6 separate regions of the Homo sapiens genome follow, and regions 1, 2, 3, 4 and 6 are each linked to region 5. The links are contacts of gene promoters, found by promoter capture Hi-C in blood cells and fetal thymus (Javierre and others, 2016). All regions are on one chromosome and are shown on one strand. The core of a region is centred on a gene start or on the middle of the fragment in contact, and the rest is flanking DNA. Distances in the headings are between cores, read along the strand shown. Region 1 holds the start of LOC124902757 (a long non-coding RNA gene). Region 2 overlaps LINC02762 (long intergenic non-protein coding RNA 2762). Region 3 overlaps LINC02763 (long intergenic non-protein coding RNA 2763). Region 4 has its middle 36 kb from the start of LINC02764. Region 5 holds the start of NCAM1-AS1 (NCAM1 antisense RNA 1). Region 6 overlaps LINC02762 (long intergenic non-protein coding RNA 2762).

What was found. The method cuts DNA at HindIII sites, captures the fragments that hold promoters and counts their contacts. A CHiCAGO score of 5 or more calls a contact.
Region 1: a fragment that was not itself captured here is called in contact with the fragment with the promoter of NCAM1-AS1 in region 5 in 1 of 17 cell types (M1 macrophages); the score reaches 5.2 in M1 macrophages.
Region 2: a fragment that was not itself captured here is called in contact with the fragment with the promoter of NCAM1-AS1 in region 5 in 4 of 17 cell types (total CD4 T cells, endothelial precursors, naive B cells and 1 more); the score reaches 9.4 in total CD4 T cells.
Region 3: a fragment that was not itself captured here is called in contact with the fragment with the promoter of NCAM1-AS1 in region 5 in 1 of 17 cell types (endothelial precursors); the score reaches 5.6 in endothelial precursors.
Region 4: a contact is called between a fragment that was not itself captured here and the fragment with the promoter of NCAM1-AS1 in region 5, in 5 of 17 cell types (M0 macrophages, M2 macrophages, endothelial precursors and 2 more). The highest score is 9.3, in M0 macrophages.
Region 6: a fragment that was not itself captured here is called in contact with the fragment with the promoter of NCAM1-AS1 in region 5 in 4 of 17 cell types (total B cells, monocytes, naive CD8 T cells and 1 more); the score reaches 12.1 in total B cells.

Annotation. Positions count from the first base shown.
Region 1 is chr11:112,620,968-112,625,166 of GRCh38, forward strand. It overlaps LOC124902757 (a long non-coding RNA gene), which reads left to right and starts at 537. Exons shown (of 2, transcript XR_007062892.1): 1 at 537-798; 2 at 2,847-3,600. RefSeq lists an enhancer at 114-163. The HindIII fragment of the contact is 2,206 bases long and covers 501-2,706 here.
Region 2 is chr11:112,285,534-112,290,135 of GRCh38, forward strand. All of the region lies in intron 1 of LINC02762 (long intergenic non-protein coding RNA 2762), which reads left to right. Among named protein-coding and RNA genes, the nearest start is that of LINC02762, 17 kb to the left of the region's middle. RefSeq lists a silencer at 4,537-4,602. The HindIII fragment of the contact is 2,402 bases long and covers 374-2,775 here.
Region 3 is chr11:112,514,978-112,519,619 of GRCh38, forward strand. All of the region lies in intron 2 of LINC02763 (long intergenic non-protein coding RNA 2763), which reads left to right. Among named protein-coding and RNA genes, the nearest start is that of LINC02763, 35 kb to the left of the region's middle. The HindIII fragment of the contact is 971 bases long and covers 944-1,914 here.
Region 4 is chr11:112,589,673-112,594,375 of GRCh38, forward strand. No RefSeq gene overlaps it. Among named protein-coding and RNA genes, the nearest start is that of LINC02764, 36 kb to the left of the region's middle. The HindIII fragment of the contact is 609 bases long and covers 2,209-2,817 here.
Region 5 is chr11:113,271,795-113,276,019 of GRCh38, forward strand. It overlaps NCAM1-AS1 (NCAM1 antisense RNA 1), which reads right to left and starts at 2,107. Exons shown (of 3, transcript NR_034101.1): 1 at 1,830-2,107. NCAM1 (neural cell adhesion molecule 1) reads left to right here. Exons shown (of 20, transcript NM_181351.5): 19 at 1-82; 20 at 3,473-4,225. The coding sequence ends at 3,593. The HindIII fragment of the contact is 7,964 bases long and covers 1-4,225 here.
Region 6 is chr11:112,310,762-112,315,357 of GRCh38, forward strand. The region is part of intron 2 of LINC02762 (long intergenic non-protein coding RNA 2762); the gene reads left to right. Among named protein-coding and RNA genes, the nearest start is that of LINC02762, 42 kb to the left of the region's middle. The HindIII fragment of the contact is 4,420 bases long and covers 1-4,389 here.

The sequences.
Region 1 (4,199 bases), core at 354-2,853, 650 kb before region 5:
ATGACTCTTGTGGGGAACAGGAAGAATAAACCTGTCCCTTAAGTGCCATGTCTCATTCTGGCTGCAGGGGAGGGACAGGAGGAGAGTAAGGTAGAAAAGAAGGTGGAGCAGGAAAGGCACGAAAGGGAAGCTGGGTGAATGTGAGAAGTTCTGTGGAGAAAATGGTGGTATGGGGTTACTAGATGAGGAGCTAGAGCCCTAGGCTGGGGTGTCAGGTTTCCCTCTGACCCGGAAGCAGAACAGTCCTTAGACATTCTTGGTAGAATCACTGCTGCTCAGTGATATGTGAGTTTCAGAAGCCCTGGCCCCACCCTGGGTGTATCAGCACCTCATAGTTAGGGAACAGAGACCTCACAACACCAGGAACCATGGTACCTCTGTGGCTCTCGGGAGCTGAGGCTGGGGCAGAAATGAAGTGATGTTTGTCCTGGGCCCTGGATTAGCTCTGAGGCCAGGGTTGGGAGAGGGGAAGTGCAGCTCTCAGAACAAAATCAAACCAAAGCTTGTTCCCATGAGGAACAGGAAATTTAAGGGAATGAAGTGCTGTACTTAGGTTTCCAAGACCCTATGCTTGCCTCAGTTTCCCTCAAGTCCATTTCCACCCAATTCCATTGAAGAGGATGCTCTGTCATTCTGCTGCCTTTCACAGTGAGGAGAATCACTCTGTTCCTACTGATTGAGTAACCTGCTTCCTTTCTTCTTCATTTCCAATGATACAGACAGGACCTGGACTAGCTTAGACGAATGAGGCACTTGCCTCTGGCACAAAAGGGGGCACCAAACACCTCGGTAATCAAGGTAAATGATATTTTAATACAACATTTAGAAAATAAAAAATCAATGCAAAAAATCCTTGATGCACAAAATATTCAAAATTTCAATCAAGACTGGATTGGTACTAATTTCTCCATTTGTCTCAGGCTCCAGTATGGCTGGGCACTGCACAGTGCTGGATACAGATATCACTCAATGTGCCTTCAGGGTGGGAAGGGAGTCCAGCAGAAACAAGACAAACAGGCCCCCTTTATGCGTTGGAAATTGAGCTTCCAGTCTAGTGGACAAGGGAAACAGTGGAACAAATGGGTCAACCATCAAAACTTGACAATTGTGATTGGCTTGACAAACAGGGTTTTGTGGTGGATGGTTTGGATAGGATAGTTAGAGGAGCTTACCTGGGAATGTGATGTTTCTGCTATAATTTGAGGGATAAAAAGGAGCCAGCAGTTATAGGTTGAATTATATTCACGCAAAATTCGTATCTTGAAGCCCTAACTTCCATGATCTCAGAGTGTGACCTTATTTGAAAATAGAGTCATTGCAGCTGTAATTAATTAAGATGGAGTCATACTGGAGTAGAGTGGGCCCCTAATTCAATATGATGGGTGTCTTTATAAAACAGGGAAATTTGGACACAGCCACCCATGTGCACACAGGGATAACACAGGCAAAGATGTCAAGATGAAGGCAAAGATTGGGGTGATGCTTCTATATGCCAAGGAACACCAAACATGGCCAGCAAACACCCAGCAGCTAGGGGAGAGGCCTGAAGCAGATTCTCCTTCAGCTCTCAGAAAGAACCAACCCTGCCAGCACCTTGATCTTGGACGTCCAGCCTCCCAAATTCAGACGATAAATTTCTTTTGTTTAAGCCCCCAGTTTGTGGTAATTCATTAAGGCAGCTCTAGCAAACTAATACACAGGCCATGCAAAGACAGACATCCACGGGACACGACCAGTAAGAAAAGTCCCTGAGGGGAGTAAGGGATCAGCCTGTTTGGGGAACTGGAAGACGGTAAATGTGTCCATATCACAAAGAGTGAGGTCATGAGGTGAGCAGGGGCTAGTTCATCTAGGAGGACACTCTGGAGTAATGGATTTTACTCCAAGTACAAGGGGACCTTGCTACTTTCCTATGACCCCTCGACTTCACAGCAATTTCACTGAACCCAAGATATTTCCAACCCCACTGAGCTAAAACTTGCTGTGTTTGTGAGTGAGCCTAGGGGTGGAGTGGGGCATTAAAAGCAGAAAAGATGTCAAGATTTAATGAACACCTCCTAACTCCCCAGTGGACAATTCTGGATGTCCTGGGTTTTTGTTTTGTAAGGCCAGCCTCTGCCAATTTACTAGCTTAATAACCACTATGAATGATCAGGACATTGAGCCACCAAAGTCGTCCAAGTGAAGATTTTAGATGAGGATGTGGAAGTGAGGGTGGGGAACCAGGAAGCAGAGAAGAAGACTGACATTTTGAACCCCTCCTATAGAAAGTGGATGTGAGGACAAAAGAAGTACTGAAACTCAGAGGGACTGGACCTCTTTCTCCTTGTAAGTCAAGCTGAACATGTAAAGAGGAGCTGACAGGAGAGTTTGTCCTGCTGGCATCAGCCTCCAGGGAAGTCCCCCAGCTTCCTGGATGTCTCTACTCTTGCTGTTGTCTGCTTGGACCCCATCTTCAACAGCAGCTCCTAGGGCTTGTCTGGAGGCCCTAGATCAAAGGTGCTTCCCAGCCTGAGCACCTGTAGAGGTAGCAGCTGTATTCTTTAGGTACAAGAACAGCATAGTTTTCCAGCGTGTGTATAAAGGTGTCTTCTTCCTCTGGGCAAATCACTCCCAGGGGCAAGAGCCACCAGTATCAACTTAGCAATCTTTGTCAGTGGCAAGGAGGTGACACTAATCTAAACCACAATTTTCATAGCCAACTTAAGCTTATTTTCTTACCTTGTCTTTTCTTAGAACTGTATCACTTCTTACACAGGTTCTTTTTCATCATTTATAAAACCATGGAGGCCTGGAAATGAACCGAGAGTGACTATTCATGCCTGAGCTAATGTCTCTTCCCCCAGGGATACTGCTGGAAGATGGACAGTGAATTGTCAGAATTCAGAAGTTCCAGGTCAGAGGTTGACTCAGCCACCCCTGGGCTGATGGAACCATCAGAAGGATCCTCTGATTCAGTCCCCAAACTGGGCCCTGTGGAGCAGCATCCCAGACAGCAGGAATCGGACCTGCAATTACTCCTTGGGACTCAGGGAGGAGTTTTAACAAGAAAACTGCACATCTTCAGAGCAGGTGGTCTTTTCTGTCTCTATAATCAAACAAAAATTTTTTTCGACTGTTCTATAACAGACTGCTGCCTGGGATCCTAGAACTGTTGCGTTTTTGATCTTCCTCTTCGCAGCATGGACAGTGGATCCCCTTGATCTGCAAGCCCTGCCCTGCCTCTCTCTGCACGCTGGGGGTTCAGGGAGGCTACACCCTTGGGGGGCACTGGGAGCTGCTGGAGATGTGCACAGCGAGCAGTGGAGAGCAGTCGTCTCTTCTGATCTACATGCAGGGGAACTGGTGAGAGTTGCCGTAGGACCTCTGGTGAAATTACCTTGGCTACTGACTAGTAAAGAGATGAGAAAGGAGAGGTACTATAGATTTTCTTTAAGAAATAAATATTGTCTCCTCTTTCTCTCTTTTCTCTGGTAAACAGTGCCCAAATTTGGAAATATCACGTGTAATTTATTGTCCCACTTTAAATGTTTCTTGTAACCATGAATTACTATTCTTGGATCAGATTCCATTATAATAAACTCCCACTTGGACTCCAAATTCTTTTACAACAGTGGAATTTTGCTTGAACTAACGCATTGTTATAAATCACATTTTCTGACCCCAGCCTGGAGTTCACACTTGGTTTTCAACTCCACAACTGACCAAAAATGGGATCTTAAGCAAGTCATCTCAACTCTTTAGCCCGCAGTTTCGTTTACCATAAATTAGGAACATTAGATATAGCTGACCTAATTCCTCATAGGTTTGTTGGGAACTAATAAGATTATTTTGTAAAAGTGTACTGGAAATCATAAAACTCCATCAAAATGTTAGCTTCTTGTTTGTTGACAGAACATCAATCACATTTGAGGAAGGCATTTTGAGCTCCTTCCTTATGTGGTGGTGATTTGAAATCCCATCTGCTTTGAATATTTCATATTCCTCTTTGCTTTCCAGCATTGGATATGCCTGAAACACTCCTGTAACCTTGCATTTCCTTACCTGTACAACAGGGAAACTAGTACTGGCCTGCCTGCCTTCGACTTTTGGATCATTTTACTTTTAGTTTACCTCAGGACATGTAGGACTTTGATAATGTTGGTGGACATCTGATTTATTGATGCTGGGCAAAGAGGGGCACTCAAGCAATACATGCA
Region 2 (4,602 bases), core at 325-2,824, 990 kb before region 5:
TTAAAGGCATGTGCCACCACGCCTAGCTAATTTTTGTATATTTAGTAGAGACGGGGTTTCACTGTGTTGGCCAGGATGGTCTCAATCTCTTGACCTCGTGATCTGCCCACCTCCCAAAGTGCTGGGATTACAGGCGTGAGCCACCATGCTCAGCCTGTTCTCTGTCTCTTGTATCTCCCCATGACCTTCAGTGTTCAGACACTGGGTCACCTCTCATTTCCTAAATGTCTGTTCTCTTTCTTGCCTCTCCAAGTTCAGCTGCAGAGCAGCTGCATTCCTCAGTAGGCAGTGGGAGAGACTCTGTCTTTCTCCTGCGCTGCAGCCCGTCTCATCACAGGCTTCAGGTGGTCCCTTTGGGCTCCCACAGCAGTCAAGCTTCCTGCGCATGATTAAAGGGATGCTGGTGCTTCTGAAATAAAGCACCAGGGGCAGAGGCTGATGGCTCAAGCCCAATCCCCAGGTCTCCCAGAGCTGGCTTCCCTGGTAGGCAATCACAGACTTTGCAGGGAGGAGCCATCTCCTTTGTTCTTATGTGTTGCTTCTTTCTTGCTACCCAGGCTCATGTTAATTGCTTTTCTGACATTTTTTCTGGCAAGTGATTTTTGCTGCTGCTTGTGGAGGTGACATGGCAAGCCCACAAGGGAGCGATAACAATGACCTAATGCAGAGCCGAGGAGGCTGGGGCTCCTATACGGGGTAGAAGATAATGAAGTTGAGTCATGAACAATTTGTTCTAAATGGTCAGTGAGATAGGCTCAGAGCCTTCAGAAATGAGAGTAGCCTGTGGCCAAGGCTTTCCTGAGAAGTTGTTCCCTCGGCCTTTGTAGTTCTGGCAGACCACCCTTCCTGGTGCAGGGACCTCAGGATGTGGGAACCTGTGCACAGGGCTAGATGATTCCTAAGGTCTTCCAAGAGCTTGTGAATGTCGGCAGCACAGAGACTAGAACTATGATGATCCTATCTTCCCAGCTACCTGTCAGAACACGTAGTCTGGTAATCCAGCAACTCCATTAGCCCAGATATTTATTCCACTTACTCTGTGCCAGGCATGGTGTTAGCTGGAGACATGACAGTAAATGGGTCACAGTTCCTACCTCAGTTCAGCTCACAGCCCGGATGGGAGACAGACCCACACTTAGATAATTATAATGCAGCAGGGCGAGTACCAGGATCCAGTGATGTATGGGGGTTATTCTGAGCACAGAGGAGAGGTCTCAGGGGCCAGGACAGGCTTCCTGGAGGCAGCACCAACACTACTGAGTCTTGAATAAGCAGAAGTTATAGCTGGGCCAGGCCAAGGGGAGTATAGGGGTGAGGAGGGAAGAGCTGATTTCTTCTCCTGCCTGAACCACCTGTTTAAAAGCAACATGGGGAAACAAAGCCATATGAAGAGGGGAAGTTGACAAGCACAAGTCCCTTGACTCTACAGAACAAATTTTAATCTCCCTTTCTTTGTACGAGGGTCTCCAACTCAGTGTCCAGCCACCCAAGCTCTAGCCTGTGGGGACCCTTCATAACTCCTCCCAGGGGGTCAAGGCAACCCAGCATTTCCTGGGGGATGCAGATGAGTGTGGCCTAATAATTCTTGCTCCAATCAGCGACTGTCTAAAATGTGGGCAACCTGAGCACCCAGTGCCATCCAGAGCTCAGGGTAGGTGCTCATCATGTCCTTGATTGCAGCTGCATGTGTGTTTGCCTCTTACCTGTCATGATGATCAACAGGAGCTCGGCAGTTGTAATCAGCAACGAGAGTTACACATGTCATTAGGTTTACAGAGTAACATGGGCCAGGCCAGAAGATATGTCTGCAAGAGGTCTCCTTGGTATGGCCAGCTATGGCCAGAGGAATAATAAAGGCAAGGCCTTCCCAGGTGGGCACCTCTGCTATTTTCTACTGGAGGCAGGGGCTGAGTCCTCGAGTGGGGAAATGCCGATGTGGCCAGTTTCTCTAAGGACTCTGGGGCTCTGTTGGCCCCTTGGCTACATTTCTTGACTTTGCCATTGTTATTATTAGCTTTTCTAGGTGGATAATGGGATAATGGGAGGCAATGTGGTTAACATTTTTTTTAAAAAAAATAAATGTTGGCCGGGTGCGGTAGCTCATGCCTGTAATCCCAGCACTTTGGGAGGCCAAGGCCAGTGGATTACCTGAGGTCAGGAGTTTGAGACTAGCCTGGCCAGCATGATGAAACCCTGTATCTACTAAAAATACAAAAATTAGCCAATGTAGTGGCTCATGCCTGTAGTCCCAGCCACTTGGGAGGCTGAGGCAGGAGAATCGCTTGAACCCAGGAGGTGGAGGTTGCAGTGAGCCGAGGTTGTGCCACTGCACTTCAGCCTGGGTGACAAGGGTGAAACTCCGTCTTAAAAAAAAATGTATTGTGTGTATCGAAGGTATCCAACATGATGTTAATGTGATTTTATGAAAAGCAGCCTTTGCAGTCAAGTAGACATGAACTTGAATCTTAGCTCTGCCACTTCAGCTGTGCAGCTTTGAACACTTAACTTCTTTCAATGTGAGTTTCTCATCTATTAAATGGGGTTAATCATGTCTATTTGTATCTATTTCCAAAGAGTGTTGTGAAGATCCAAGGGGATAGCACGTGTAAAGCACATTCTTCTTACCTTTTATCTCCCTGAGCTGAGTGTAGAGGCTGCAGTCATTCATTGAACAATTGTTTATTGTCTACTTATTGCTAACCATTGTTGCGGGTTCTGCGGAAACAGTAATGAACAAAAGTCTCTGTTCTCATCAAGTTCACATTCTGGTGGGGAAGCTTGAAAATAAGTAAGTAAACTAAGCAGGATAACTTCAGATAGTGATAAAAGCTATACAGAAAAGGAAACAGGCCCATAGGATAGAAGTGATTTGGTGGGAGGCCTGAAGAGGCTTTAGGGAGCACAGTGGTCTTTGAACCAAGACCTGGAGGCCAAGAAGGAGCTGGGCCTGCGGAGACCTGAGGAAGAGCATTCCAGGCAGAGAGAAGAGCAAGGGCACAAAGTGCTGAGGTGGGAAAGCATTTGGCAAGAAAGAAGATGCTTGCAGGAGGAGCACTGTGAACCCTGGGGAGTGTGGGATGAGGAGAGGAGCAGGAGTGAGTTCCATGCATGTTCCCAAACTCTGTGCTGAGGTGTTCTTGGAGCTGCTGTGGATTCAGAGGGGCTCTTTGAGATATTTTAAAGGCCAAAGGCAACACTCAACTTTTGTTGGGCTCCATGCAAACTACTAAGTAGTGCAGGATAGCTTGAAGACTCAATATTAGATTGCCCTACAGTTTTTTTTTTTTTTCCTTGAGATGGTGTCTCACTCTGTTGCCCAGGCTGGAGTGCAGTGGTGTGATCTTGGCTCACTGCAACCTCCGCCTCCCAGGTTTAAGAGATTCTCCTGCCTCAGCCTCCTGAGTAGCTGAGAATACAGGCACATGCCACCACGCCCAGCTAATTTTTGTATTTTTAGTAGAGATGGGGTTTCTCTACTACTACCATGTTGGTTGAGCTGGTCTCGAACTCCTGACCTCAAGTGATTCACCTGCCTTGGCCTTTCAAAGTGCTGGGATTACAGGTGTGAGCCACCACGCCTAGCCTGCCCTACATGTTTTTTGATAAAACCATATTTTTCTGAAGCTACATTTTCAGTTTTTGTCATTTGCTGTGACATAAAACACGTACCATGGGAAAATCAATATAGAATAGGAAATGAGGGCGGCAGCGTCTAATCCAATTCCAAGGTCTGAGAAGTTGCGCAGTGCTCAACAAGCACACACATCCCGTTAGTGAGAAGTTGTGGCTAAGAATGAGATAAGTTTTTTTTTCTAGTTTATATGCAATATTTTTTCTAGTGGCTACTAGTTGTTAGGACAGAAATACTTCTTACTTGGGTCTAGCTACTTAATACACAGAACAGTCAGGTATTTCTTTAGGCCTAGGGTTACTGTGAAAAAAAGCATTGAGACATTAAGGGCATGATAAACAGACAAGGTTAGAAACTCCCGGGCTAGGTGATGAGCTGTCATGAAATCTTTCTCATTTCAAGCGCACAACTTCATATTGTTGCCTTTTCATAGACCCAGGGGTGTGTGTTTCTGTGCATTTGTGGATAACCTGAAAACGTCGTCTAGATTTTGTAACTGGGAGGGTCCCCAACCTGCCTGACCATTAGGATCACCTGGGGGAACTTTGCAAAAATAGTTCCCTGGCCTCTGCCCAGGGGATTCTAATTCAGTGGGTCTGACATTTGAATCTGAGTTCAAAGATCTCTGCTCCAACTCGCATTCTTTCAGGCAGCCAGGATGGCCCAAGTGGAGCCGGCCTGCCCAGATTTGGGGGTCCTAGTTGTTATACGTTGTGCCTGGGGCCAGGCTGTGTGGCTTTTTCGGATCCCCAAGACTGGGAAGGGGCGTGGAGCACGTGTCCGTTGGAACCCTGGGGGAGGTCGGTGCTGGAAGCGCTCATCTCCACCTCCAGTCTGGGTGCGCTGCGTGAGTGACCCGAAAGGAAGATGATTCTTGCCGTAGGAAGCCCCTGCCAGGACAGTCACCACCTCCCAGGCCCAGTGGACTCGGACCCGAGCGTCCTCCGGGAGGGTTTCTGGGGCGTGGCGGC
Region 3 (4,642 bases), core at 179-2,678, 760 kb before region 5:
GAGGAAAAAAATTCAGAAATTTCCTGTGTACTCATCATGTAAAGATAACAGCTTTTAACGTGTTGTTGTATGCCCTTTTAGTGTTCTTTTCATTCCAGAGAACACACACACAGTCACATACGGTTTTACAAAAATATCATTTTATATGTACTGTCTTATAGACTACATTTTATAATGTGGCATTGTCATTACGAACATTTTCTTGTGTCTAACATCATTTTTATTAGTCACATAATATTTCAGTGATTGTATTTCCTATGGTTCATTTAACCAAACTCCAATTTTTATTCACGCATTTAGGATGTTTACTTTTTTTGCTATTAATAATGTTGGAATGAGTATCCTTGTACATTCATCTTTCAGTCCTTGTCCAATTATTTCCTTAGAGCAAACTCCTAGAAGCAGAATTACCCACTTAAAGGTCTTTCACATGCTGCGTCGTGTTTTCTTTCAGAGAGAACAGAACAATTTCCATTTGTACCAATAGCGAATGAAGGTACCCTATGATCTTCTTTATAAATAAGACTGGAAAAGATCATGAAGTTCCCAATGTCCAATATCTGAGTTTTATCAGAGACTTCCCTTAATGAGGCTAAAACGAGAGCCCTGGCTCCCTTTGATGGGGAGGGCACATATTCTCAAAGAGGGGAATCTGGGCTGCAGAAGACTTATGATTTTGACTTGACCCAGCTAAGTATTTTCAGGAAATTTGTCCTCCATAGCCCCAAAGTGCAGCGTGAAACCAGCCAGCATCCAGGTGCTCCCTGCAGTGAGAGTGTACACCACTGGCCTCCAGACTCTTGCCCATCCTGTGTTCCCGATGTTTCTGCCCACCCCCCTCCCCTGCCCACAGATCTAGTTTTAGTCTCATGGCTCTGGTTGCCCCAAGCCCCAGCTCCAGGAAGATGACAGAGGGATCAGGCAAGCCCTGAGGTGAGTGGTAAGCTTGTCTCTGGGAAAGAGAGAGGACAGGTCTCAGTTCCCTTGGGAGTCCTGAGGAGGAAGACAATGTAGTATCAGCAAAGGCCAGGGGCACCTGTGACCTGAGAAACAGGTGACTAGAAAACCAAACCAAACTGCTCCAGATTAGGGCAGTCCTTCCAGTTCTGTTCTAATTAAGAACAGTTTCCTTTGTACTCCTAGAAAACAGAACCCCCCCCACCCTCAAGCTAGGTGGGACAGGAGGTGGGGCAGAAGAGTGAAAACAGAAGGCCTATTTGGCCCCCTTTCCTGGATTCTGTTTAAAAATAGGTTCTGGTCATGGATGACCAAGGACCATGAGCTGAACTTCCCAATCAATGGAACCAACACAGACACTTGTGCCCACTGGGCCAGGCTGGGCAAAAGAGCCCACTCCAGAAAAAATTAGTGGGCCTTGATGGGAGAAATGGGACAGAATAGGGCAGTGGTTATTTATTGAGGTGTGTGTGGACCAGCAGCAGCTGCATCATCTGGGAGCTCATCAGAAATGCAACTGCATGGGCCCCACCCAAACTGCTGAATTGGAATCTCAAAGGATGAGGCCTGGAATGTGTGATTCACCACGTTCTCTATGAAGCACTTGGGGACAGGAGTTCTTTGCAGAACATGGGGACAGGAGTTTTCAGTCTTGGCTTTTTCTGCCATCCCGTGAGATACCAAGCAAGCCTCTTTGTCTCTCTTGGCTTTATGTAAGGATAAGTAGACTTGATACTTTTTCCTTCAACTCTCTCCTTGTTAGTATAAACATCTAAATAAGGTATGCATGTGTGTGTACATGTATGCATGTGTGTATGTGTGTTTGTGTGTCTGTGTATGCATGCACATGTGTGTCTGTATATGTGCATATATGTGTGTGTACGTGTTGTGTGTGTGGTTAGTTTACTCTGGTTCTTCTTTTCCCTTCACCTTCCATTCCCATGAGATGATAAAGAAAGCTTATTGGAAACAAAAACTCAGAGTCAAAACCAACCAATGATGTTTACTGTGAAGTCATCTGAGAAACAGGATGTTGAGGTTCTCTAAGGAGCTGCTTCGCAGCTCCTAGCAGAATAGTGGGTTCTCCTGTAGAAGCAGGACACAGGTCCTTACAGACAGAAGCACAAATAAAATACCAGTTGGATTAGAGGTGATTTAAATTTATGGCTTTCCATCAACTTTATCACTTTAGAAAATGCTCATTCCAATTGAACTATGTTTTCTTTTCTCTTAAAATTAACTGGTTGAGCTTAAGTTTCAATGAAACATTGCTATCCAAGTTTTAAGGGCTATTAAGGGTTCATCACATTAGTGAGGTCCATTTGTTTTAGGGTATACTCTGGAGCCAATGTGTCTGGGTTTGAGTATAGGCTCTAACAGTTATAAGTGAGTAACCTTGGGCAAGTCACTTAACCTCTCTGTGCCTCAGTTTTTTTCACCTACAAAATGGAAATAATAGTGACTAGCACAAAGTATTGTGAGGATTACGTGGATTAATATATGTGAAGTACTTTATAATAAACAAAAAAGCAAAGTACTGGTATGAAAACAGACACATAGACCAATGAAACAGAATAGAGAACTCAAATAAAGCTGTACACCTAGAAACATCTGATCTTTGACAAAGTCAACAAAAATAAGCAATGGAAAAAAGACTCCCTATTTAATAAATGGTGTTGGGACAACTAGCTAGCCCTATGCAGAAGAATGAAACTGGACACCTTCCTTTCTTTATATACAAAAGTTCACTCAAGATGAATTAAAGATTTAAATTTAAGACCTCAGGGCCGGGCACAGTGGCTCAGGCCTGTAATCCCAGCACTTTAGGAGGCCGAGGTGGGTGGATCACCTGAGGTCAGGAGTTCAAGACCAGCCTGGTCAACATGGTGAAACTCCATCTCTACTAAAAATACAAAACTTAGCTGGGCATGATGGTGTGTGCTTGTAATCCCAGCACTTCGGGAGGCTGAGATGGGTGGATCACCTGAGGGTCAGGAGTTCGAGACCAGCCTGGCCAACATGGTGAAACCCCGTCACTACTAAAAACACAAAAATTAGCTGTGTGTGGTGGCATGGAGCTGTAATCCCAGCTACTCAGGAGGCTGAGGCAGGAGAATTGCTTGGACCTGGGAGATGGAGGTTGCAGTGAGCCAAGATCATGCCATTGCATTCCAGCCTGGGAGATAAGGCTCCATCTCAAAAATGAATAAAAAATAAATACAAAATTAAAAAATTAAATGTCAGACCTCAAAGTATAAAAATCCTAGGGAATATCATTTTGGACATTAGCCTTGGCAAAGAATTTATGACTAAGTCTTCAAAAGCAATTGAAAAGTGGAACCTAAGTTAGCTAAAGAGCATCTGCACAGCAAAAGAAACTATCAGCAAACAGGCAACCCACAGAATGGGAGAAAATATTTGCAAACTATGCATCAACAAAGGTCTAACATTAAGAATCTACAAGGAACTCAACATGCCAAAAAAAAAAAAAAAAACCCATTAAAAAGTGAGCAAAGAATATGGATAGACACCTCTCAAAAGAAGACATGCAAGCAGCCAACAAACATGAAAAAAAAATGCTCAGCATCACTAATCATCAGAGAAATGCAAATCAAAACCACAATGAGATACCATCTCACACTAGTCAGAATGCTATTATTAAAAAGACAAAAAACAACAGATGCTGGTGAGGCTGTGGATAAAAGGGAATGCTTATACACTGCTGGTGGGAATATAAATTAGTTCAGATCCTGTGGAAAGTGATTTGGTGATTCCTCAAAGAACTTAAAAGAGAACTACCATTCGGCCCAGAAATGTTATTAGTGGGTATATACCCAAAGCAAAATAAATCATTCTAACAAAAAACACCTACACGAGCATGTTCATTGCAGCACTGTTCACAATAGCAAAGACATGGAATCAACCCATCAATGGTGGACTGGATAAAGAAAATGCAGTATATATACATGGAATACTATGCAGCCATAACAAAGAATGTAATCATATCCTTTGCAGCAACATGAATGGAGCTGGTGGCAAAATCCAAAGTGAATTAATGCAGGAACAGAAAAATAAATACCAGATGTTCTCACTTACAAGCAGGAGCTAAAGATTGGGTACACATAGAAATAAAAATGGGGGCCGGGTGCGGTGGCTCATGCCTGTAATTCCAGCACTTTGGGAGGCCCAGGCAGGCGAATCACCTGAGGTCAGGAGTTCAAGACCAGCCTGGCCAACATGGTGAAACCCCGTCTCTACTAAAAATACAAAAATTAACTTGGCGTGGTGGTGGCTGCCTGTAATCCCAGCTACTCGGGAGGCTGAGGCAGGAGAATTGCTTGAACCCGGGAGGCGGAGGTTGCAGTGAGCCAAGGTCACACCATTGCACTCCAGCCTGGACGACAAGAGTGAAACTCCATCTAAAAAAAACCAAACAAAGAAATAAAAATGGGAACAATAGACACTGGGGACTATTAGAGGGGTGATATGATTTGGCTTGGTGTCCCCACCCAAGTCACATCTTGAATGGCAATCCCCACCTGTTGAAGGAGGGACCTGTAATCCAAACGCGTGAAGGGAGGCAGGTGATTGGATTATGGGGGCGGTTTCCCCCATGCTGTTCTTGTAATGAGTGAGGTTTTTTTGTTTGTATGGTTTTTTGTTTGTTTGTCTTGAGATGGAGTCT
Region 4 (4,703 bases), core at 1,263-3,762, 680 kb before region 5:
TGGGGTTTGAAGCTTGTACAATTAGAGGGAGGTGGCTTTAAGAAAAAGAGAATAAAATTACAAACACAAAAGTGAATCTTGATTCAGAATGACACAAAATGAATCTCACACACACAAAATCACTAGAGCCCTAGAAAGTCAGGTCTCTTTTGAGATCTCTTCAAGCAGTTTATCAGAAATGCTTATATAGAAACACTTCCACACATGCACACACACACACACAAACACACCCTCCATCCCTGTCAGCCAGACTTCCCCTTCCCCCAGAACACTTCCACACAGAAACTCCCCACGATCCCAGGACCATGAGGTGAAGGGGGTGGGAGGCTTAAGCTTTGCCAGGCAAATCTGCTCTGCAAGTAGTGTGATGACCGCCATTTTGCTCTGGTGATGCTGACTGACACATTATAGACTTGTGCAGGACACAGCCCTGATAAGGTGTGAAGCTGAAATTTGAAATCAGAACTTCTGCCTCTAAACCCTAATGTGCTTCCCACGGCAGGCTGCAGTCTCCCTCTATGCTGCCACAGTGCTCTGGGACTCTGTTGGTCTAGCCTGAAATCCACTCTGGAGGGCCAGTTTTGGTCTGAGTGGCAAATCCTACAATCCTCTTCCTTATCCTGAGGCCAAGGAGAAGCCCTAAGGACAGGAGAGCGGTGGTCCTTTCTGGGGGAGATGAACCGTTCCTGCTGTCGCAACTCCTTTCCTTCGAATGCTCGCTCCATTCTTGGTTGTTGACTCCTGCACCTGAAAAGGGCTTCACATCTTCTGCAAGGGACTGGCTTTCTGAGGGATAGGCTCTGTGAGAGGGGCTCTCAGGAGAGGCTGTCTGAGGAAGTGACTCTGTTTGAGAGGAGCTCTTGGATGAAGGGACTCTCCGAGGAGGGGCTTTTTTCGGAGGGACTGTCTGAGGAAGGGGCTTTCTGAGGGAGGTGCTCCCTGAGAGGGGCTCTCTAAGAGAGGGGCTGTCTTTGGGAGTGGCTCTCTGAAGGAGGTTCTCCCTGAGGGAGGCTGTCTTTGGGAGGGGCTGTCTGAGGAAAGGGCTGTCTGAGGGGGCCTCTCTTTGAGGAGGACTGTCTGAGGGAGGGGCTGTCTGAGGGAGGTGCTCCCTGAGGGGGGCTCTCTAAGTGAGGAGCTGTCCTTGGGAGCAGCTCTCTGAAGGATGTTCTCGCTGAGGGAGGCTGTCTTTGAGAAGGACTCTCTGAAGGAGGGGCTCTCTTGGCCTGTCCTGTCCTGTCAGACCCACAGGGCTAAGCGTGTCTTTGTTATGACTTTGTATCCAGGCCTCCCTTTTGAAGGCCTTTCTCTACTCTCACTTCTGACTGCCCTTCCTCTGAACCCTGTCTTCTTACTCCCTCCTCCCTTTCCCAATAAAGTCTTTCCCTCTGAGCAAGGATCTATTGTTAGTCATTTGTGTCTTAGGGTGAATTTAAGTCATTTGGTTTCTTCCTCCAGGATGAGTTGTAATTCTCCATTAAGGAACAAAAGCCCTAACCCTTCAAAGGAATGGGAGGCAGGGGAGTAGATGAGGGTTGTGACCTGACTTGGGGATGGGGATGGAGGGATTTCCACAATTTTGAAATTATATCTCAGAGGCAGCTGTTATACTTTTTTTTTATTTGTAAGGAAAGAAAGACAGAAAATTTAAATGGATTGGCCATCTACCAAGGTCCTGTGCTAGATACTTTCAGAAATGTTACCTTATTTAATCCTCAGAGCAACTGTGAGGTAGGTATTACAATACTCTTTCAGTGGATGACCTGGCTGAGGTTAGAGACAGTTACAGGGTCACCTAAAACAGAAGGAATAATTTTTTGGTAAGCACCTGTCTTGTGCCTGGCACTCCATTATTTCTTCTCCCAAGTGTCTCATTTATTCTTAAAGCACTGTCAAGCATGTAGTATTAGCTCCTGTTTTTAAATGGGAAGGTTGAGAATCAGAGTAGTGAAGTGGCTTTTCCAAGGTTCCAGGAATGTGAGAAATTACCTTAATGCAATGTGGCCTCTGCATACTCTACTAGATAAGTTCTGTCAGAGGTGTCAGAATAGGAGGATTCACGGGCCAAATTAAAGTGCTTAAACTCACAGTTTACTAAATCTGTTGAAAACCCAAAGCAACAGCAAGGGGAGAGGGATAGGGTAGGTTAGCTCACTTCAGATGGGAGCTGCCAGGTGGAAGCACCATACTCCTTGGATCCTGGGGTATATAAGCTTGTGTATCTTCCCTCTCTCTGCTGCATCAGCCTTCCCTGCTGATGGTGTGGTTATGAGGATCACAATTGAGATTTGAGCAAGAAGGCCAAATACACACCAAAGATCTCTTGGGCCAAAGCATAATTTTGCTGTCTGACAGGAGGAATATGGGGGCTAAAACAAGTTTGCTTAGCTATAGCTACAGCTTGCCAATTAGCCTTCCGAACAGTCGAGAATGTATTTGCATTTCTTTCTTTCTTTTTTGAAACAGAGTCTCTCTCTGTCGCCCAGGCTGCAGTGCAATCTTGGCTCACTGCAAACTCTGCCTCCAGGGTTCAAGCAATTCTCCTGCCTCAGCCTCCCAAGTAGCTGGGATTACAGGTGCCCGTCACCATGACTGGCTAATTTTTTGTATTTTTAGTAGAGATGGGGTTTTGCCATGTTGGCCAGGCTGGTCTCAAACTCCTGACCTCAGGTGATCCAACAGCTCGGCCTCCCAAAATGTTGGGATTACAGGTGTGAGCCACAGCACCCGGCCTTATTTGCATTTCTTATACAGAGCACCTGGGGCCAAAATGAGACCCTGTGGGTGTCAATCAATGGGTACCTAATTTAGAGTTGATAAAGCTTTTAGCCCAGAGATGGCATGATTATGACTTGTTATCTCTATGACTTTCTATCTATAGTTAGTAGATAACACTCTGATTTGTTTTATTATATGTCCCATTTACAGTATATATCTTTAGGATGTCTTACAGGTTACTAACTCAGTAGCTATAATTAGCATATCTTATGAATTCTGCCTGTCTCACAAGCTGCTTACTCACTCATCATCTACACTTCACACATCCTATGGGTTTTGCCTATACCTCGTAAGCTGCTTGTTTGCCTTCTATCTATGCTAGCTTTAGTTATCCATTGCTATATAGTAAAATACTCCAACACTTAGCAGCTTAAAATAACAATTCACATTTTCCATCTATCATAGTGTCTGTGGGTCAGGAATTTGGGAGCAGCTTGGCTGGGTCGTTCTGGCTCTCATGAGGTTGCAGTCACAATGTCACCCAGGGCTGCTGTCATCTTAACTGGAACTGGGGGATTTGCTTCCAAGATGTCTTGGATGTGGCTGGCAAGTTGGAGCTGGTGATGGCGGTAGCACCACATGAACTGCTCTGCAGGGCTACTTGAGTATCCTCATGGCATGGCAGCTCTCTTCCCCAAGGGCAAGTAGTCTAAGGGAGAGCAGTGTCTTTATGATCTGGCCTCCAAAGTCTCACACCATCATTTCTGCAGTATCCTATTGGTTATGCAGAACATCCCTGCCCACCCTGGGAAAGGAATATACCGGGGTCAAGGAGCTAGGACCACTGGGGTCATCTTGGCGGCTGGCTTCCACAATGAATCCAAAATTACCTGATGCTTGTATGTCCTTTTAAGTTTCATCCACCCAGTTTGCTTTCTTGATTCTATAACAGAATTGGCTATCCAAAAATAATGCAGCAAACTCACATTACAGTCCTGCAGCTAGTAGGTGGTAGAGAGGCCCATCTGCTTCCAAACCTTTTCACTTCCCCAGGCTGCCTCCTTGGGAGACTGGCTGTATCTCATGCCCTAAGCTCTGAGCAGATTTTGAAATATTAAGTTACAGCTATTAATAACAAGAAAAGCAACTATAACAGCGATCATAATCATCATCATCATCACTGAAGCATGCTGCTCAGTAGAAACATTATGTACAAGGCCCTCACAGAGCTGCCCTAGGGGGAACTGAGAAGAGCTCTGGGCTAGTGGCTTAACAGGAGAAGGAGGTGGTTGTTTCCTGTAGAAGATACTTTCATCCCCTAGACATGGGACTCATGACTGAACAGCACCTAGAAGTCCTTTAAACTTAAGATGTGAGACATCATAGAGCCTCTTACATCTGGACACGCATCCCAATCTAACTTACATTTCAATTTACCATCCTCATAAATCCTGACCACTACTTTTGGTTATAATATTGTCCAATGTGTTCAATTCTGTTTTGCCTCCATTTATGGTATTATATTTGCTTCTAATTAGTGGCATCTCCTTTCTGGGGCCATGCAGAAAGGTCATTATTAATTCATGCCTGATTTTCCCAGAGGTTCTGGTCTTGGCCTTTGCCAAGAACAGCAGTTGTTTTGTCCTTACTGATGCACATGTTCTATGATCAGTCACATAGAAAGGTTGCACTCAAGTTGTGTCTGACTTTGCTATGGCCTTCCAGGATTGCTTATAATGGGTTAAACTGTCCTAAAATTGCTCCAGTTATAAGCAATCTTGTTCTCATGTTAGTAGATGGCATTTCTTCATGTCGCAGCTACGAGGGCTCTTCCTTTGGGTTGAGAAGCCCTTATATACCACTAGGTTGGGATATGCATAAAATTAGATTTTCATTTGTTTATAACTTCTTTTGAATCTTCCTCTCTCCCAAAGGAGAGGGAGTGGAATGAGTCTTTTCACATGTGGTTCATTTGAAGTTTTACCATT
Region 5 (4,225 bases), core at 857-3,356:
GAACGGAGGAGGAGAGGACCCCAAACCATGATGGAGGGAAACACACAGAGCCCAACGAGACCACGCCACTGACGGAGCCCGAGTACGTGGGCTGGGAGGGGCTGGCACCTGCTCCGTAGAGACCCCCACACCCACCTCCCCACCCTACCCCCACCTCCCGTGCCCCTACCCACAGCTCCCGGCCAAACAGTTCAGGCCAGGATTCCAAACCCTTGGCCACAAGACCTGCTTGGCTGAGAAATGCCTGACCTCAGGCATTTCTGGTTCTATTTCGGTGGCTGTGGGTACCCTTAGAAGGCTCCTGTATAAGTAGGGATCCCTGGATCCCTAGCCCCTGTTCTCAAGTTATACACATATTCTGGAAATGGCTTAAGGTGGCAAAATCTCACTGAAAGGCTTAGCAGAGTCTGCTTAGGATTTCTTGAAATTCTAGGGTTTTGTGTTTTCCCCCTGAAAGGATAAGGGAAGCTGGGGACCTGGTAAAGTTCTCTGCCCCTCCTCTGTTCAGAAACCTCGGGGACCCACGGAGCCCCAGACCAGTTGTGGTTGTAATGCCTGCCTAGCTGTCAAGGATCTTATGGGCTTAAAGGGAATGGAGTTTCAGGGAACCACAAAATCTGTGACTGGAAGAACCCACAGCTCCTATGAGCCATTCTGAGTACTCGTGATCTGCCTTATTCGTGACTTTTCCCATCGGTGCCCTGGGGAGCCCTGCAGGACAGCTGGGCCCAGTTCCTCTGGGACCTGGGAAGCCTAGAGCAGGTGGATGCTGAACAGAAGCCTGCCCCTCCTTGAATGGAGATCCAGGGCAGGGATCAGGAAGCCCTAGGCAGGTCTGCAAGGACTTCAGGGAAAGGGAGCTCTATGCAGAGAGCTGGAGAGACATCAGCAGGGAAGGGCTAGCAGGTCCCTTTTGAGACCGCCACGTTCTCTGTCGTCTCCTGTGTCCTCTTCTGCCCACCTGGGCGTGTGCTTCCTCTCAGCATCCTTCTCTCTCTGTGGGCCTGTGTCCGTGCCTGTGCCTAACTGCATGCCCCCACCCCCATGGTCCCTGTCCTGGGCTTCAGCCCTCCTCCTCGCTTCTCTGTCACGTCTCAGCTTCATTGTCTATTCTCTTCTACTTCCTGTCCTCCCACAGGCTGCCTGCCGACACTACGGCCACTGTCGAGGACATGCTGCCTTCTGTCACCACCGTCACCACTAACTCTGACACTATCACCGAAACCTTTGCCACTGCTCAGAACAGCCCCACCAGTGAGACCACCACCCTGACCTCCAGTATTGCCCCGCCGGCCACGGCCACGCCTGACTCAAACTCTGTACCGGCTGGCCAGGCCACCCCTTCCAAGGGGCCCAGCGCCTCTGCCCCCTCCCCGGCCCCAGCTTCAGCCCCCAAGGTCGCCCCCCTCGTTGACCTGAGCGACACCCCGACCTCAACCCCTGCCGCTAGCAATTTGTCTTCTAGTGTCCTGGCTAACCAAGGGGCTGTCCTCAGCCCAAGCGCCCCTGCTGGTGTCGGGGAGGCCTCTAAGGCTCCTCCGGCCAGCAAGCCCACCCCTGCACCAGTCCCCACCCCGACTGGGGCAGCCAGTCCTCTAGCAGCAGCGGCTGCCCCTGCCACAGAAGCCCCTCAGGCCAAGCAGGAGGCTCCCAGCACCAAAGGCCCGGACCCGGAGCCCACCCAGCCCGGAGCCGCGAAGAGCCCGGCCGAGGCAGCCACAGCCCTTGCTAGCCCGAAGAGCGAGGCTGCCTCCGTCAGCACCACAAACCCTTCCCAGGGCGAGGACTTTAAAATGGACGAAGGGAACTTCAAGACCCCAGATATTGACCTTGCAAAGGATGTTTTTGCAGCCCTGGGCTCTCCTGCTCCCGCCGCTGGGGCCAGTGGACAAGCCCCTGAGCTTGCTCCTTCCACTGCAGACAGCTCTGTTTCGCCTGCGCCAGCAAAGACCGAGTACGGCCTCTCTTTGTCTGCTGTCATCGGGTTGTGTCCTGTGGTGGTGTGCATTTGTGCTGTGCTGTGTCCTCCTTGTTAGATGTGTCTTCAGCCTCATCCAGGGCTTCTCTGAGGCGACCGTCAACCAAGGGGCTGGGATAAGGCAGAGAGAGCAGGACAGGCAGCTGGGCCCCAGGAGCAGCCGCCTGCTGGCTAATTAGGCCATGTTAATTATGTTTTATCCTTATCATCCTAGCAGCGGCTTCTGTTTTCCCTGGGGGAGCCCTTGCAGTCAGGCCACTGATGAGAATAGCTTGGGAAGCAGGCTAAGAAGGCCAAGGTGCCCTTATCAGCCACCCTGGGGCCCCCAGTCGGTGTGTTATTCAGTGCCAGGCTGAGTCCCTACCAGAAAGGCACTGATGTGCAGGAAGAAAAGAGGTAGGCCCCAGGCCCGTGGCAGGGGAGGGTGCAGTTCAGAGGTCCCCTCACACTGTGGCTCAGATGCTCACCCTCCCCTCCCAACCCCGGCCCCCAGCCCACTCTTGCTTCTCCTGCTCTTAGAGTGGCTGGGAAGACTCGGGGCTCCCCAGCATCAAATGGCTGCTGGGTCTCAAAGTTCAAGAGAAAGGCCTTAACCTTTCAGGTTTGTAAGTGTCTTGCCAAAATTCAGTGGCACCAGCTGAGGCTGGGGTCTGTGCCTGTCCCCATGCATCCTCAGACCCGACTCCCTTTCCTGGAACTGATGGAGGCAGAGTCAGACCTAGATTTTTATAGAGGCTCCTATGGCTGCTCCCCAGATAAGCTGCCATGCTGCCACCATGGGCTGCAAGGGGCTCTCGCCAGGAGCCCTGAATCTCAGCATCGGGAGGGAAAAGGACTCTGATAGCCCTGCCCACTCAGCTGCCCTCAACTCTCGCATAGCCACCAGGCCCACTCTAGTACCCCACCAGGCTGCCATGAAAAGCTGCCTCCATCAGTGTTTTCTCACCCTACCCAGGCAGGCCCTAGAGGCATCATCCTGCAACAGCACAGGGTGGGGTGGGGAAGGGACAGGCAAGAGTGGGTTGCAAAGGGGCCCCTGAAATCAGTGCTGGGAGCCCAGCCCAGCCCAGCAGGCTGCATTTACATCCAGCTGAGCTGTTGCCACTGCAGCTGGTCAGGGTGAGGAGGAGCTGCCTCTGCTGCCCCCTTCCACCACCCCAGGTAAAAACACAGCCTCTGGCATCAACTTAGGGCTGGAAGAGGAAAGGACTCGTTCTTCTGACTCAGTGCTTCTCAACTATGGCTGCACATTAGAGTCACTTGGGTGCTTTTAAAAGTCACTGTGTCCGGACCAATTAAATCAGGATTTCCGCGAACACAGCTCGGGCTTGGGTGATTTTTAGTGCTCCCAGGTGATTTGACGGGCAGAGGTTGGAGCCGGGTGCTGTCACTGGAGAACCCCTCCTCCTCCCTGCTGTCCCCAAGGCCTGGATGCAGGGGCGAGATGTCTGCAGACCGTGGTCTCAGTGGTTCTGTTTTCCTGATTCTCTGCAGGAAGGGCCCCGTAGAAGCAAAGCCAGAGTGCCAGGAGACAGAAACGAAGCCAGCGCCAGCCGAAGTCAAGACGGTCCCCAATGACGCCACACAGACAAAGGAGAACGAGAGCAAAGCATGATGGGTGAAGAGAACCGAGCAAAGATCAAAATAAAAAGTGACACAGCAGCTTCACCAGAGCATTTCCAACACCACAGACACACACACGCACGCACACACACAAACACACATGCACACACACACATCTCATTTCTCTAGTGTCTTTTGCCTTTAAAAAAAACTAAACAGATAAAACATGGGAATCTCCTTTTTGTAGGTTTATAGAAAGGGTCCCTTTGTTGCACACTCACTTGTAAGAAAATGAGACAAAAAGGTTAAACCCACAGCCAAACTAGGACACTCCGTTCCCTGAAACCGTTAAAAAATCAAACAAAAGGACCCCAAATTAAGAATCTAGGAAGCTCAGAAACGAAATCTAGGTTCAGGAAGACCACACTTGGTGTTACCCGATTGGCACAGACCAGTTTCAGAGAAATACTTTCAGGCACTAAGACTAATCGAATGAACAAAGTCCACAGTTTATTTTTATACTTTCAGTCAAGTTTGAACTCTGTAAAACCTCATAAATAAGTTATAATTTCTGTTCACTTTGTATTTGTTCAGTATGCAAAGTGTGTCACCCTTTCTAGCTGAATTCAATTCCCACGTAGACTCTTATTTTATAGGACGAATGCCAAATTGCAGCTTCTGGGG
Region 6 (4,596 bases), core at 930-3,429, 960 kb before region 5:
ATGGTATATATTTTGATTATTTTATTTTTATCTTAATCAAGTGGCAACTTTCCATCTTGACGTATCTTAACCTGAGCAGTTGTGGCTGGGAGGCAATGGGCTTGAACAGACTGAGGAGGGAGGGGGAAAGCTATGCCACTTGGCATAACGCTGATGTTAGATGCAGGAGCAAAGGCCTCTCAGCACAGCCCTTTCACCTGCCTAATTAGTGAAGAAATTGCAAGCCCTCCAATGGGCACTGAAATGCTCAGAGCGCCAGCCTCCTGGGGCTCATTACACAAATGAGGGCGGAAGACAGGAATGGTCAGGATCTGCTGGTTACAGCCTGGGGGCCGAGGGGAGCCTGGGCTGGGGACAAGAGGCACCTGGAACTGGAAAGTGGCGGCTTCTTGAAATGGTATAGGGACGCAGCCCACGTCTTAGTCCATTTACCGACATTAAGGGATTGAAGTTTTTCCAGCCAATGGCATTTGATGGAAATGTGCAATTATGTTCCAGGAGCTGGCTCTAGGACCTCACGGAGTGAGTGAGATGGAGTAGAGAGCTATAATCTAGCCATTTGTCTTAGTTTGGGTTTCCCTGAAAACTAAGCCTGAAACAAGGATTCAGGAGCAGTGAGTTTATTTGTGGAGTGATCCAAGGCAAGGGAGTGAGGGAGCAGAATGAGCCAGGCGGGGAAGGAGGAAAAGTCAGTCTTGAGTTGGCTGCCATGGCGGGCAACTGGGCCCAGTCCTGGTGAGGATCTGTCAGGAGTGTCTCCTTGGACACTTCACTCTGGAGGGGAGGTGGGTGCATTTATTCTCTGATTTCTAACCCATTCATTGAGGTTGCCTTCTGGGGTTGCCGTCAGACTGCCCTGCATGCTAAGATCCTGGAATTTCGGATAAAAAGCCCTGAGGGAAACAAATAGACCAGCAGGATGCTGGAGGTGGCCCCTGCACCATTCATGGGGACTGACTCTTGCAGCTGCAGCAGAAATCCTGGTGGCCTAAGGGGAAGTGGTGTGGGGGCACAAAACACATCCCAGTCACTCCTGGAGCCAGGAAGTGGGGAGGAGAGGGTTACTGCATGGTTATCAAGAGTGACGGTGCATGAGTTTGGTTGGGATAGGGGGCACCAATCTCAGTCCCCAAACTCAGATGGGTAAGAAATCTCCAATTCTGTCCTTGCCCATAAGTAAACCTAATTTTCACTCCATATTCCCATCATACTGTGCTAGTCGGAAATTTAATCTCATATGAGACTCTCCTCCCTGTGTGCCAATTTTCTTCCCAGCTCCATAGTTGGTTCTAGGTTTCTGTGAGCCACTGGAAGACTCTGGGCAGATATCTATAGAGAACAGACTATTATGCTTACATTGTGCATGACTTTTTTGTGTGTGTGAGGTGGTAATTCTTCTGGTTAACTAGTCAGGTCGAACAAACTGAGTATTTTCTTTTTCTCTTTTGCCGGTGTCTTTATTTTGCACACTTTGGGGGTCTTCTGTGAATTACTGTGCACAGAGAATGTCCCTTTGTAAGAAGATGGAATGGTTTTTGTGGCTGGTTACTGTCCCACTGTCCTTCCACCAGTGGCTTGGTCCCCTGTCATCTGGGAGCTCATCCTTGTAGCCATCTCTAAGTGACACAGTGGCCTCAGTGTGTGAATACTGATATCTAGATGCTGGCAGTGCCTGGAAGAAGTTGCTGTACGTTCCTTGTTAGTTTCATATAAACAGAACTATGGGTCTGTTTATTTTTTGACTACTCAGAAAGACCTTTTAAAATTTAATTAAAATTATTCTGTAAACTTGAATTTGTTTGATGTCTAGTTCTATAAGTTTTAACACATATATACCTTTGTGGAACCACACCAACACAATCAGGATACAGAGCTGTTTCATGACTCCCAAAAAAACTCCCTTATGCTCCTGCCCCACCTGTAACCCCTGGAAACCACTAATCTGTTCTCCATCACCATAATTTTGCCTTTTCAAGAATAAAATCTAAATCTTTGTATTTCAAATGTTGGCATAAAATCCAATAGTTAAAGTAGTTCTAGTCTTGTATTCACACACACACACACACACACACACACACACACGTTCTTATCTTCTGGTTTGTTGCAGCAAGGATTAGACAGCACTTGCATAGTAATGTGGGTTAAGGTGGCCCATGAAGACGCCATCGGAAGGACACCCTTGGAGAAGGCGACCCATTTTGCCAATCTCCGTTAACCTTATTGTATTTCAGAGCAAATAACCTCACCTTCTTTCTCTTACACTTATTCTTCTTTGGAGTGTTATAAGATGACTTCTTAGCACCATGATGTCTCAACAGCAAAAGAGGCCTTTTTTTGAATTTTATATTCAGACATTTGTGCATCCATCTTCCAGTTGCTTGCCAGCAAAATCAATCCCTGTTGATTGGAGGAATCTTAGCTTTCACATTTTTTATTGTATCCATGGGTTCAACCTTGAGAATAATAGTCTTTCTTGTTAGGGCTTTCATGAAAATGTGCATCTTGGCAGTGTGGGTCTACTGGAGATAGTGGATCTGAAAGGAAGATTCGGTTCTGATGAAATTTACTCAAATTTATCTGAAGCTGAATTGAAGCTGGGTTATTGCAGGAAAAAGGAATGAGAGGTCTAGTATCACAACTGGGGTTCTTACCTAAAGACTCAGAGGGAACAGTCATCACTGTAATGAGACCACCCTGACTTAGTCACCTGGACTGTTAGAGGAATCAGTTGAAGCTGTTCTGAATGAAGCAAGAGACTCTAAGAGAACCTCCTTCTCACCCAGTGCCCACAAATTCTGTGCTCAACCATTTCGATCTGTCTTTCTGCTCAGGGGCAGGCTTGGTGAACCTTCAGTTCTAGTGACTAGCTAGCGGTCAACACTTCCTCTCTATGCAGGGGGTGATCTTGTCCCTTCAGGTCCACCAGGGCAACTGGACTTTTGCTCCATACTAAATATCTTGGAGATCTTTTCATCTCAGCCCCTATAGATCAAATTCATCTCTTTGATGGTTGCATAGATATTGCATTGTGTGTATAACTTCAGTTTGTTTAACCAGACTCCTATTGCTGAATGCTTTAAGGCTCCCATAGTAGAATTACATTTTTATTGATTGACTTTTGAATGGGGGAACAGCCAGTGTTTAGAGGGGGACATAATGGAAACAGCAGGTCTTGGGCAACTTCTCCCATGTCACAATATTTTGAAGGGTGGCTTCATCTAAGAATCTTGAATGAAAATAATTCAGTAAATTATGAGCGAGAAATGAATTCTTCTAAATCTACTGGAGGCTAGAAACAGATTCATTGGTGTCCTTGAGATCAGAGAAGAGTATAGAGTCAATAACTTGAAAACTGGGTTCATTGAAACAACAGGGGCTGGTCCACAAACTTTCAAAGTTCATGTCTCAAATCAAAACCTTGGCCTCTAACACTCAAGCTGCTTGATGTGAAAAGCAGAGGTGGACAACAGCAAAAATTAACACTTCAGAAACCAACAATGCCGAGAGCAAATGGCCATTTAGTTTCTCCACCAAACTTCCCTAATCCAGTTTGATTGTTCTTGAATAGCACTGGCTTAACAGTTTGTAAAGTAAATACCCTTCCAGATTTTTGGGAACCGTTGCCTCCCAGTTATGTTTGACTTTGTTTTCCTCCCAACTGGTGGCCTCCTCCTGCCTCACTGAGAATTCAGCTATTCTGTTCTTTTACTATCAAAATTTGCTCTCAAAAAAGATGCAAAAACTCATTCACATTACAATTCAAGTTGATATCTAAGTGATATCAGGTAAGAAGAGAAACTGGCATATACACACATATACTATATGTGTGTGTGTGTGTATGTATATATATGTATATATGTTTTTAGCAGCATTTCTCTCTGTCACCCAGGCTGGAGTACAGTGTTGCAATCTTGGCTTACTGTAACTTCTGCCTCCTGGGCTCAAGCCATCCTCCCCCTTCAGCCTCCTGAGTCGCTGGGACTGCAGGTATGCACCACCATGCCTGGCTAATTTTTAAATTTTGTTTTGTTTTTGTTTTTTGGTAGAGATGGGGTTTTGCCATGTTACCCAGGCTGGTCTTGAACTTCTAGGCTCAAGTGATCCTCCTGCTTGGGCCTCCTAAAGTGCTGGGATTACAGGCATGAGCCACCATGCCTGGCCTGTATATATACTTTAATTTAGATTTTTATTATAGGACTTTTAAATATACACAAAAGTAGAGAGAAAAGTATAATGAACCCATACATACCCACCGGCTTCAACATTTATCAAGAGTCTATCATTTTTGCTTCCATTCTTCACTTATCTCCCCCTATACTTTTTTTTCTGGATTATTTTAAATGATTTCCCACAAATACAGGAAGGAATATTTAACGGGAATAAATGGGAAGCTTAGTAGGGCAGTGGCTGTAAGGGGGTGCAAAGCTGCAGGAAAGATTCCCAGATTGTGAAGCGATGCCTGCCATGAACATAGAGGAGGAGGCAGGGGCAAGCGCCACGCACCTCCCACGTGCCACCTGCTTTCAGCCGAAGGAATAAACTCTTACTCTAATATTTTAGGCATTTACAGCTGGCAGGTGAGAATATTTTGGAGGA